3 separate regions of the Homo sapiens genome follow, and regions 2 and 3 are each linked to region 1. Evidence: promoter capture Hi-C in 16 types of primary human blood cells and fetal thymus (Javierre and others, 2016). All regions are on one chromosome and are shown on one strand. Each heading gives the region's core, a stretch centred on a gene start or on the middle of the fragment in contact. The rest is flanking DNA. Distances are from core to core; before and after follow the strand shown. Region 1 holds the start of SASS6 (SAS-6 centriolar assembly protein). Region 2 has its middle 20 kb from the start of S1PR1. Region 3 has its middle 11 kb from the start of LINC01307.

What was found. The method cuts DNA at HindIII sites, captures the fragments that hold promoters and counts their contacts. A CHiCAGO score of 5 or more calls a contact.
Region 2: a contact is called between a fragment that was not itself captured here and the fragment with the promoter of SASS6 in region 1, in 2 of 17 cell types (erythroblasts and fetal thymus). The highest score is 6.0, in erythroblasts.
Region 3: a fragment that was not itself captured here is called in contact with the fragment with the promoter of SASS6 in region 1 in 4 of 17 cell types (fetal thymus, naive CD4 T cells, activated CD4 T cells and 1 more); the score reaches 12.7 in fetal thymus.

What each region holds. Positions count from the first base shown.
Region 1 is chr1:100,131,129-100,135,104 of GRCh38, forward strand. It overlaps SASS6 (SAS-6 centriolar assembly protein), which reads right to left and starts at 1,802. Exons shown (of 17, transcript NM_194292.3): 1 at 1,622-1,802. The coding sequence starts at 1,686. It overlaps TRMT13 (tRNA methyltransferase 13), which reads left to right and starts at 2,035. Exons shown (of 11, transcript NM_019083.3): 1 at 2,035-2,187. The coding sequence starts at 2,041. RefSeq lists silencers at 1,424-1,587, 3,725-3,976 and enhancers at 1,583-2,185, 1,590-1,709, 1,720-2,249. The HindIII fragment of the contact is 1,832 bases long and covers 150-1,981 here.
Region 2 is chr1:101,255,063-101,259,134 of GRCh38, forward strand. It overlaps the pseudogene RPS20P6. Among named protein-coding and RNA genes, the nearest start is that of S1PR1, 20 kb to the left of the region's middle. The HindIII fragment of the contact is 6,994 bases long and covers 1-4,072 here.
Region 3 is chr1:101,310,398-101,314,465 of GRCh38, forward strand. No RefSeq gene overlaps it. Among named protein-coding and RNA genes, the nearest start is that of LINC01307, 11 kb to the right of the region's middle. RefSeq lists an enhancer at 1,881-1,960. The HindIII fragment of the contact is 3,376 bases long and covers 578-3,953 here.

The sequences.
Region 1 (3,976 bases), core at 552-3,051:
CCAATGGAGATACAATGTAAGCCACAAATGTGAGCCAGGTATGTAATTTTAATTTTTTTCTTTTTCTTTTTTTTTTTTCAGAGACAGGATCTCGCTCTATCACCCAGGCTGGAGTACAGTGGCACAAATAGTAGCTCACTGTAACCTCAAGCTTAGGCTCAAGCAATCCTCCTGTCTTGGCCTCCTAAAGTGCTGGGACTACGGGTGTGAGCCACCATACCTAGCCTACTTTTAAATTTTCTAGAAGTCACATTTTAAAAAGACTTTTAAAAGCAGGTGAAATTAATTTTAATAATACATTGTATTTAACCCAATATACCCAAAAATATTGCCATTTAACACATAATATAAAAATTGACATATTTTACATTCTTTTTTCATAGTAAGTCTTAAAAATCCAACGTGCATTTTCATATGTAAAGCACAACAATTCAGATAAGCCCCATTTCAAATGTCTAATAACCACATGTGGCTAGTGGCTACCATACTGGACAGCATTAAAAGAATGATCAACTAAACCTACAGATCTCCATATGCAGCTGCTGGTTTTGGGACCATCTCCTTGACCGGCTTGCCATTGATTTTTGACCGAATTCTGAACTATATATACTACAGTTTGACATTACTGGCAACTCAATAAGGCAATGTCTTCATTTTTTATGTTACATTTGTACACCACTTAGTTTTCACATACGATTTCACACCTGATCCTCATTACAAACACGTGAATACGCAAAAGATTTCACACCTGATCCTCATTACAAACACGTGAATACGCATGTTATATCAGTTTTACAAATGAGGAAAGAACGTTCAGAGAAAAAAAGAGACAACCATTGAGTGTTAGAACTGAGAAAAAAAAAGTAAGTCTCCTGACCTCTGGTCAAATCTATTTACGCCCCAATAATACCACCTCCTTAATCAAAGTTGCACTTCTCTGTGCGACTGGTCTTTATTTCCTCCAGTGATTGTAAACTCCATGAAGAAAAGGACTGTTTTTCCTGACCACTGTATTCCCAGTGCCCAGTAAGGTGTTTTACAAGGAGGCAATATTTATTGAATGAATTAATGACGTTTCTGCTTTTCTCATTTTTAGTCGGTTAAATGTAATTTACTTTTTTAAAGCAACTGATGTGAAGAGCCAAAGTACGCCACCAAATTGGTAGGTTTTTAAAAGTTGAACTTTACTGCCAACATACTTCAAAAGAGAACGAGGGGGAAAGGCTCGGAGCCAAGGCCTGAGTTCTAGTCCTGACCCTGCCATGAACTGGCTGTGAGCCCTCACGTAAATTTTTTTAACTTCTCTGGGCCAGAGTTCTTATCTGTCAAAAGGGAAGAGTAGGGCTATAATCTTCACGATTCCGTGCACAGGTAGGGTTTTTGACATTAACTTGATGTGAGCCGGCTTCCTAACTCCTCACACCCTTCCTCCAGTCCCCTCTGCAACGGCCGACTTGGTGAGAGAGGTAACCACCGGGCCCTCTGGGTTCCCTATCCGCTTCCTAGGGGGGCCGACTCGACACCTAGGTGCAAGGTGGATCCCACGGGCCAGAACCGCCATCTTTCCCCATTGGCCTGACCCCAACCGCCACCCGCGGGCACTGGATGACGCGGACCTTACCTCTCCTCACAGTCTTTGCATTTCACCTGCAACGGGACTAGTTGGTGGAACAGCACTTGGCTCATGTTGGCTCGCTGCCTCGGCTGGTGTGCAGAAAAGCCCAACAGGCCCGGCCCTCGGGATTAGCCTGAGAGGTCCGGGTCCTGATAAAGTTTGAGTTTGGCGCTCGGCTTCTGCGGAGGAGGCGGGGAGGGAGAAACGAGGGGAAGGCGTAAGAGACTTGGCCCTCGCCAGCCACCATCGGATTCTTCCGGTTCTGCGGAGGATAAAGGGAAGACGGTTGTGGTAGTTCCGGGTATTAACCTGTGTGGCGCGGGGGCTGAGGCAGCCATGTTTGTTAAGGGAAGGAGACCCGAAGGAAGCTTCTAACTTTTCTTCTGGTTGCCGGATGCTGGACACCGGAAGCGAGCCCTAGAATTATGGCGACCTCCGCGACGTCGCCGCACGCGCCTGGTTTTCCAGCTGAGGGTAGATGCGGTTACTATGTGGAAAAGAAGAAACGGTTCTGCAGGATGGTGGTGGCCGCAGGGAAAAGATTTTGTGGTGAACACGCTGGAGCCGCGGAGGTGTGGTATCGCCCTACTCTCTCAAGAGTCGGAAATAAGTATCCTGGTCCTGTCGGTGCTGGAACCCGGCCCCTCCCCTCTTTGACAGCTTTCTGCTTGTGTCCCCTGGATTCTCCAGCTTTCACTTTAATAAACCCAGTTTTGCCCTCCTTGCGGAGCGATTATGAGTTCTAGTGATGAGAAATTTTTTATTTTTCTAAGTAAAGCGCCAGCAGTGACCCATTTATTTTGATCTATTTATCTCGATCTTAACTCATGGTAATGCTAGGTTTTAATTTTTACCCCAAGCTACCGCTCCGTCTTCCTGCTGGAAAGTGGTAGTTTAGAAAAAGTAGTGATTGAAGTCCCAAAGGTTTCACTAGTTGTGTTCTAATTGTTATTTCATGAAAGAGAAGCACTTCTCGTGAATGCGGTTGGAAGAAACTTTCTTTTAAAAATTTAGACTTGAGGCCCGGCGCGGTGGCTCACGCCTGTAATCCCAGCACTTTGGGAGGCCGAGGCGGGCGGATCACTTGAGGTCAGGAGCTCGAGACCAGCCTGGCCAACATGATGAAACCCTCTCTCTACTAAAAATAAGAAAATCAGCCGTGGCGCGAGCTACTAAAATTAAGAAAATCGTGGTGGTGCGAGCCTGTAACCCCAGCTACTCGGGAGGCTGAGGCAGGAGAATCGCTTGAACCCAGGAGGTGGAGGTGGCAATAATCCAAGATCACACCACTGCATTCCAGCCTGGGTGACAGCCAGACTGAATCTCAAAAAAGAAAAAAAAATTTTTTTCGACTTACAGTTTTTAAGAATGCAACTTTGCTGGAATGGGAAGGAAAGATTTTTAAATATATACGAATTGACCTTTTACAATTGAGAACAAAGCATACAATTTTGTTTGATAATTATGCATATAAATGTACTATCAAACACTTTATATTTGTATATATGTATATTACTTTAGGATATATATGAGATGGGAAAATAAAAACCAGAGGAGCAAAATGCTCATAGGAAGAGAGCATGTCCTTATAGTTCCACAGAACTATAAAGAATAAACCAAAGCGATCAGCATCAGATTTCATGCTTCTGAATGTTCAGTATTATTTGCATTATTTTATTTCTTAAGGAATTTATTCTTCTAGACAATATCCAGTGCAGATCAGTCCCCTGACCCCCTTCATCTGCCACTCTCCATCATAGTTGTAGTCTACTTCCTATTTTGTTTTGACTGGCATTTACCAAAAGTGAAGCATACTGAAACAAGGACATTCTTGTTTTGGAATATGGGAGACGTGATTTGTTGTGGGAACTCTGAATTATGCCCATAGTCTATTGACTGGTTTTGAGGGGACTGGCAAACATCCCTTGTTGAAGAATGAGAGTTATGATAGGAGAAGGATTTAGACTCCACCTTATCCAGATATATGGAAGGTGAAAACAAATAGTGATGATAGTAGAATATGAATAAATCCTTACAAGCTGATTAGTATTCCTATAGAGGAACGACATATTGTCATTAGACACTTGAAGAGAGACCGCAAAACATCAAGTGGAAACACTTTTATTGACTACTATCTCGTTTTAAATTGTGGCTATCCTCCTGAATCTGTAATTTATGATGTAACTGGATGTTGTGTTTCCATCTTTTTTTCTAAGTGTCATATATAGCTGTGATGACACCACTCATTTTTACCCAGTGGTTCTCGACTGGGACTGATTTTGCCTCCAGTGAACACTTGGCAAAATGAAGACATTTTGGTTGTCAAACTGAGGAGTATCACTGACATCTAATGGATAGAGA
Region 2 (4,072 bases), core at 1,142-3,641, 1.1 Mb after region 1:
GGAGTGCAGTAGTGTGATCTTGGCTCACTGCAACTCTGCCTCCTGGGCTGAAGCGATCTTCCCATCTCAGTCTCCCAGGTAGCTGGGGCTTAGTGGGCACCACCATGCCCCGCTAATTTTTTTTTTTTTTTTGTAGCGATGTGGTCTTGCCATGTTGTCCATGCTGGTCTTGAAATTTTGAGCTCAAATGATCTGCCTGTCTCCCAAAGTGCTAGGATTACAAGTGTGAGCCACAGCACCCAGCCAGGAAGAATCGTTTTTGCAGTGGGACTCTGGTCACCCAACGAACATCAGGATCTTTCTTGTAATATAAAGCAGAATGGAGAAATATCAATGGAATTTCTAGTATATGAAGATTTTTCCCTGCATACGAGGAAATATATTAAGTCAGAGTAGTCAGTTTGGCCTGTGTTTGAATTCTGTCTCTACCGCACACTAGGTATGTGGCCCTGGAGAAGTTATTCAACCTAGCTGAAATGCAGTTCATTTCTTTGTAAAATAGTGATAGGCTGGCTTGGTGGCTCACACCTGTAATCCTAGCACTTTGGGAGGCCGAGGCGGGCAGATCCCTTAAGGTCAGGAGTTCGAGACCAGCCTGGCCAACATGGTGAAACTCTGTCTCTACTAAAAATACAAAAAATTAGTCGGGTGTGGTGGCATATGCCTGTAATCCCAGCTATTTGGGAGGCTGAGGCAGGAGAATAGCTTGAACCTGGGAGGCAGAGGTTGCAGTGAGCCGTGATCACGCCACTGCACTCCAGCCTGGGTGATAGAGTGAGACTCAGTCTCAAAAAAAAAAAAAAAAAAAGAATCGCTGATCTGCCAGCTCCTGCTCCTGACTCACCACTGTTCGCTCTTGTGAGGAACAGTTGGTCAGGAAGCCGCGCAGCAGCCATGGCTTTTAAGAATACCGGGCACTTTGGGAGGCCGAGGTGGACGGATCACAAGGTCAGGAGATCGAGACCATCCTGGCTAACACGGTGAAACCCCGTCTCTACTAAAAAAAAAAAAAAAAAAAAAAAAAAAAAAAAAAAAAAAATTAGCCGGGCATGGTGTGGCAGGTTCTTGTAGTCCCAGCTACGCAGGAGGCTGAGGCAGGAGAATGGCGTGAACCCGGGGGGCGGAGCTCGCAGTGAGCCGAGATCACGCCACTGCATTCCAGCCTGGGGGACAGAGCGAGACTCCATCTCAAAAAAAAAAAAAAAAAAAAAAAAAGAATTCCGGAAACACACTCGTGGAGCCAGAGGTGGCAATTCACCGAATTCGAATCACTGTAACAAGCCGCAAAGTAAAATCCCTGGAGAAGGTGTGTGCTGACTTGATCAGAGGAGCAAAGGAAAAGAATCTCAAAGTGAAAGGACCAGTTCGAATGCCTACCAAGACTTTGAGAATCACTACAAGAAAAACCCCTTGTGAATGTTCTAAGACATGGGATTGTTTCGGGATGAGAATCCACAAGCGACTTATTGACTGGCACAGTCCTTCTGAGATTGTTAAGCAGGTTACTTCCATCAGTATTGAGCCAGGAGTTGAGGTGGAAGGCACCATTGCAGATGCTTAAGTAAGCCATTTTAATAAATTGATTACAAGTTGTTAAAAAAATAAAATAATGATAATAACTAACTTCAAAGACTGTTGTGTGATTTAAATAGGATTATATTTGGCCAGGTGCAGTGGCTCATGCCTGTAATCCCAGCACTTTGGGAGGCCTAGGCAGGCGACTCATGAGGTCAGGAGATCGAGACCATCCTGGCTAACACGGTGAAACCCCATCTCTACTAAAAAAAAACCAAAAAATTAGCCGGGTATGGTGGCATGCGCCTGTAGTCCCAGCTACTTGGGAGGCTGAGGCAGGAGAATTGCTTGAACCTGGGAGGTGGAGGTTGCAGTTTGCTGAGATCGCACCACTGCACTCCAGCCTGGGTGACAGAGTGAGACTCTGTCTCAATAAATAAATAAATAAATAGAATTATATTTTTTAATGTCTGGCCCAAGATAGATGATAGTCAACAAATGTTCATTTACTCATTCATTTAACGCATATTTATGAAGCATCTACTATGCTCCATGTACTGCCATTAGAGCAGTGAGCAAAATAGACAAAACCCTTGCCACGATCAGTTCCCTCTCTTCTTTTTCCTACTTTACACTGACCCTCCCCACTAAAGCCAGGCCGCATTAGATGAATATTCCTGCTTTTTCAAAGAATTCATTCCGTTGGAAGTTCTGCTAGTCAACAACTATGTTTTGTGCTCAGATTCTCTTTTTGCATGAGATCAAAAAAAGAATGTATGATGAAATTGCAAAATTTGACCTACATTGCAACTTGGATGTGCAGAAAAATGAATTTATTTAGTCTATCCTATTCCGTCTTCCCTCACAGACATTTACGTTCTAGTTAGAAGGGGGAATAACGTTAACTAAATGACTGGTTTAAAATGTAGTCCCAGTCAGTAATTTAATCCATTTGAATGCTTGTTCTGCCTCCTTTGGATAAAAATGGTGAGGCTAAAACCAAACAATACAAAAACAAAAAAAAGCTGAGGCTAGGCCAGGCATGGTGGCTCATGCCTGAAATCCCAGCACTCTGGGAGGCCAAGATGGGCAGATGGCTTGAGCTCAGGAATTGGAGACCAGCCTGGGCAGCATGGCAAAACTCCATCACTACAAAAAACACAAAAATGAGCTGGGAGTGGTGGTGTGAACTTGTAGTCCCAGCTACTTGTGGGGACTGAGGCAGGAGGATAGCTTGAATCCGGGAGGTCGAGGTTGCAGTGAACCTAGATTGTACCACTGCACTCCAACCTGGGTGGCAAAGTGAAACTCTGTCTGAAAAAAAAAAAAAAAATTACTGAGGCTCTCAGGCTCTTCCTCTTCTGCTTGCCTAGAGTCCTGGGGAAGGGCTGAGGTCTATGCAACCTCATGTTGGTGGGGAGGAGGTGGTGTCCTCAGCCACAGTTCCCTGCTTGCCTTGGCTCTCCTCCAGCCAATTATCTCCTTCTCATTTGGTACTGCTTGCCCTGGGGTGATTGCTTGAGTGGGTGTGACCTGTGGTTGGTCTCACTGGGTCTGGTTAAAGTCCTGTTGTGTGCTCTGGCTGACCTGCCCTCATTTCAGTTTCCCCTGGTGCTAGAGATCCCTTTGAAGTTTGGTTGGCCTTTCATCCAGCCCTGGCTTTACCTGCCTCTGATAAGCAGAGAGGCTTGCTCTTTCTGAGTCCTCTCTACCTCGCTCTGACTGACCATGTCTGACCTACCTAGGGGTGGGCTTGGTCCCTAGGTTTGTATGGGAGCATGCCACACACAGAGCCCCCTCTTTTGAGTTCATGAGGAGTCTTTTTAATAGTGGCCCCCACTCTGCCTTTGGAGTTAACTTTGCTTCCCTTGTGCCCCTTTCCCTACCTGGGCCAAACTCAGAAGAGCTGGGGGAGGGGAGATTAGGACAACCTTCACCAGTTCATTTCCCTCTCTCTCTGCTTTCCACAGTTCTCCACACTAACAAAGGGCTAGTCTGTCTGTCTTTCTTTCTTTCTTTCTTTCTTTCTTTCTTTCTTTCTTTCTTTCTTTCTTTCTTTCTTTCTTTTTCTTTCTTTCTTTCTTTCTTTCTATTCTATCTTCTTCCTGACTCTTCCTAGCTTAATCTTAATGACAAGCAGGTTACCTTCTTTTTATTTTTGTTTTTAAACCACATTGATCTGAAATCTCCATGCTTGGTTGTTAAAATACTAATGCCTCACAAGGGAGTTCAGCAAATCCCTTTTCAAGAGGCTTGTATAAACCTACTTTCTGAAAGACAGAAGCAGAATGTTACTCATTCTCTTGTTCTTCTTCTATAATAAATTCAGACTCTCCATCTGGGCAAGTCATTGGCTAGGGCAGACTAATGTGAAGGTTTCTACTCAAGGAGGCAAAAAAAATGCATTTTAATATTCAAAATTTTACTTGTTACAGAAGCATGGCTGGTGCCTTAAGGAACTCATTGTTTATTAGCTTTATGGTTCTCTGACTATCCAGGTGACTGGACTGCACCCAGGTGTTGGCGGCCCTGGAACTTGTCTGTCTGTCTGTTGATT
Region 3 (4,068 bases), core at 1,016-3,515, 1.2 Mb after region 1:
AATGTAGTTCAAAATAATAAGGCTTCATTCATTTTTAAATGACCAGAGCATTTCCTTCTCTCAGGGGAGGGGGGCAGGGAAGGGGATTGTGTGGAGATCTGTACTAGGAAACAAATGCCTATAGGTGTAGGAGAGACATGTTTTATAATTTTAAGAATATACAAGGGACATCTGTTCTCAGTTTACACTGGGATGCTCATATATTTATTCTAAACAAGAAATTCAAATGGAAAAGGCTTCACTGTGCAGGAGAGACAGGAAAAGGAAGAGTGAAATCGTTGAGAGCACGGGTTTTGGTTTTGTGGTGACAGATTCAAGGCAATGAACACACATGATGTTTTGCTCCTCAGGGCCAGGTTGTCTCCAGTGTGTAGTGTATACACATTTAAATGATGGTTTGTAACTGCAGAGTTGTTATCTTGACTTTAGAATAATAAGAAAGAAAATAGAGAAAATGCAAGGGATACTCCACAGCTGTTCTTGATTTGTCACTGTGATACAATCTAGTTTTTTTGTTGTTGTATAGTTTATTTGTTTTATGGTTTTTGCCCTCCCTCACAATGGTCTAAAATTCTGAAGCTTCTCTGTCAGTTTCTGGATAACAGGGAACCATGTCTTCCTACCCTCATTTTGTTTTCATTTCCACAAATTGAAGGTAAAGGTATTTCCCTTCCACTTCATGCCAAGAAGTCAATGCTTGCTGCTGCATCCCCAGAAGAGTGTGACACGTATTAGGAGCTCAAGAAATATTTCCTAAATAAATAAACAATCCCAAGGCTTGTGCTCTTTCCACTGTGCCAACTTCCTTTTGCATCTTGATCCTTCTCACATGGCAACACCTTTTCAACACCTTTTCTGGGTAGGGACCTTCCCCCTCACTAACCACCCAGAGGTTAGACTCCTCTTGGGAGTCAGAAGATTGTGCTGCTTGCTCAAGATCCAGATGGCTTGCACTGTGCAGCTCACAGTAGATCTCTGTCATGCCTTCCAGCTGTCAAAATCCCAGTGGGATACTCTGGCTGGTCCACTTCCAGCTTCTTTCCCTGTCTGACCCCCTTTATAGGCTATATGCCTGGGATCTCCTTGCTCATGTCAAAGTGGGGAAGACGTGGCTTCTGTGGACTTGATGGTCCTACTGAGAAAAGCCAGATGAAACTTCGCTTGAAAGACTAGGGATAAGAAAGCCTACTTGGCATGACAGCATCCAAAATCCATTTGTTGGTCACAAGTTCTGAGATGGTTAATTGTATGTGTCAACTTGACTGGGCTGAGGGATGGCTGGGTAAAGCTGATAAACATAGTTTCCGCTGCTCCACCTGCAACTCTGAGTATTGCCTTCTCTTTAACTGCCACTTTGATACCGCAGCCTTTTGAAGTCCTTTTTCCTATATGTATTTGTAATTTATTTCTGCAACAGTCAATGAGGGTGCAATTACCATTTGAATCAGAAGACCAAGTAAAGAAGGTCCATACTTACCAATGTAGGTGGGAATCATCCAATAATCTGTTCAGTACCTGAGTAGAACAAAGGTAGGGGAAGGAGTTTGCCACCTTTTGCTTCCTGCCTGGTTGCTTGAGCAAGGACGTTGGTCTTTCCCTGCCCTTGTATATATCCTATTGGTTCTATTCCTCTGGAGAACCCTGATTAAATACAAGATTCTTGGGCTCGGTCATTTGAATGTTTCCAGTGGTTTCACCCAGATTCCTTTTAGCATCTATTTAAGTCATTGTGTTTCTAGTGTCCCATGCCCTGTGGTGAAAACTTCTGGGTTCGGGGGGTTGGGTTGGCTTAGGGCTAGGACTGGGCCAGAAATTCAGGGACACGCTACTTGGCTGCTTCCTCCAGCAGCCTGGGCAAGGCCCCTGAGCCTCCTCCTGAACCAATTTTTCAGCCTGACCTGAAATTCTTGTCCAGAACATTAGGACAGTGGGATCTTTAAGCTGGGAGCTTTGATGTTACTTCATGGAGTTCGCCTGTGATGGTTTCCCTTTCACTTTGTAGTAACTCTAAGAGTAGGTTCTAGGAACTAGGTTCTTGCCCGATTCTTTGTGTCTAAGCTCTGCTTATACTGCTGTTCTGGTAACTGAGTCCTAGTCTTGTTACCTACAGGGCCTGAGCTCCTGAACCCTTTCCCTGTACAGGGATCATGGCTCACTGTAGCTTCAAACTCCTGGGCTCAAGGGATCCTCCTGCCTTAGCCTCCCAAAATGCTGGGATTACAGGCATGAGCCACAGCACCTGCCCTCACCTTCTGGCATTTTTTGATCACCTTCTCTCGCCTTCCTTGTGCCCAGTTATCCTGGGACCAGAGTCTTGCTCCTAAATGCTGGACGCTGTGCTGGGTGTCTATTTCTGGGTTCTTCTGATACAATTACTTGGCTCTCTGAGGCAGTGCTCCAGCTGCCCGTCTACCCTGTTGGATGCAACTGGACTTCATGATGTCAGTACTCCCAGGGACTTCTTCCTAGTACTGACTTCACCCAAACAGGTCTGCGTGCCTTCAGGTCCCAGCTGTCCTAGTTTGGCTCATCACTTCAGTCTCACCCCTTCTGACTTTCACACACCTTCAGAGAGACTTCCTTGAGACAGGGTCTTGCTCTGTTGCTCAGGCTGGAGTGCAGTGGTGAGATCATAGCTCGCTGCAACCTCAAACTCCTGGGCTCAAGAGATCTTCCCACCTCAATCGCCCAATTAGCTAGGACTACAGGTATGTGCCAACATGCCCAGCTAATTTTTTATTTTTTTGGAGAGACAGGGTTTCTCTATTTTGCCCAGACTGGTCTTGAACTTCAAGGGCTCAAGTGATCCTCTTACCTTGGCCTTCCAAAATGTTGGGATTACAGGTGTGAGCCACTGCACCTTGCTTAGAGACACTTTCTTTAGAAAAGATTCAGAACACCAATTTGTCCCTAGCACCATTCAGTTTAAAACCCTTCAAAGGTTCCTCATTCCCTTTCAAAGAAAGTTCAAATTCCAAGTTATAATCATCCTTTACCAGATTGTAGTATGATACAGTTTTGTGTAGTGGCTAAGAGCACAGATCCTAGGTTCAGACTGCCTACATTCAAATTCAGGGGCTCCCTTTTAAGCCAGTTGATGTTTCTCAATCTGGGTCCTTGGACAATAGCCAAACAGCAGCAGCAAGCCTCTCCTATCTGCTTGCACACAGGTGGCACAAATTGCTATTGTTTCTATGACAACTGATGGCTTTTTTCCCCCATTTCATAAAAGCCGCCTGTATGGTGGACAGCAGCATGTGGAAGAAATGTGCTAGGCAGGGACTAGCCTGGTAGAACGCCCAAGCAACGTATACCGCGATTTTATTGTCTTCACCAGTCGTGGCTCTTTGTCTCCGAGTTCTGTCATATACTAGCTGTGTGAACTTGCTCTTGGGACTCAGTTTCCTTACCTATAAAATGGTGCTATTTACTCTTAAGGTAGTCAAGAGAATTAAATGAGTTGATATACCTAAAACACTTAGAACAGAATTTGACACATCATAGGCTGTTAGCTGTTATCATTTTTCAAGATTGAATCTCTAGCTGTCCACTTTTACCACATGTTCCACCTAGAGTGAACCACCAGTATTCCCCTTGAACATATCATGGTTTATGTTTATACCTGTTTATGTGTTATTTCAACAACTTGTCTTTCAAAACCCAGCAGGATTTCGGCTTAAGAGAAGTCTTCTTTTGCTTCCTATATGATTTAGATGATTCTACCATACTACACAAGCAACATCTACTATCACGCCATCTTTTAACCTGTAATTGACCTATTCTTTCACCTGCAATACAGGAGTCATCTTCAGAGGAAGGGATGCTTCTCAGTGTTTGAGTCTACAGCACCTAGAACAGTGTTTGCGGAGAGTGAATACTCATTCAGCGAAAGGATTCCATTGCTTGTAAAGTTATGATTATGACCTTGGTTTCCTCAGCTATTAAAGGAGCCAAGCTTGACCCTCCTTTAGCATGACCCAGAGTGGTTCAAGCCAGGAGCTGCTCTGACACTGACTCAGTCCCTGGGTGGTGATGACTCACTGCTGGGGCTTTACCTTCCAGAGCCTC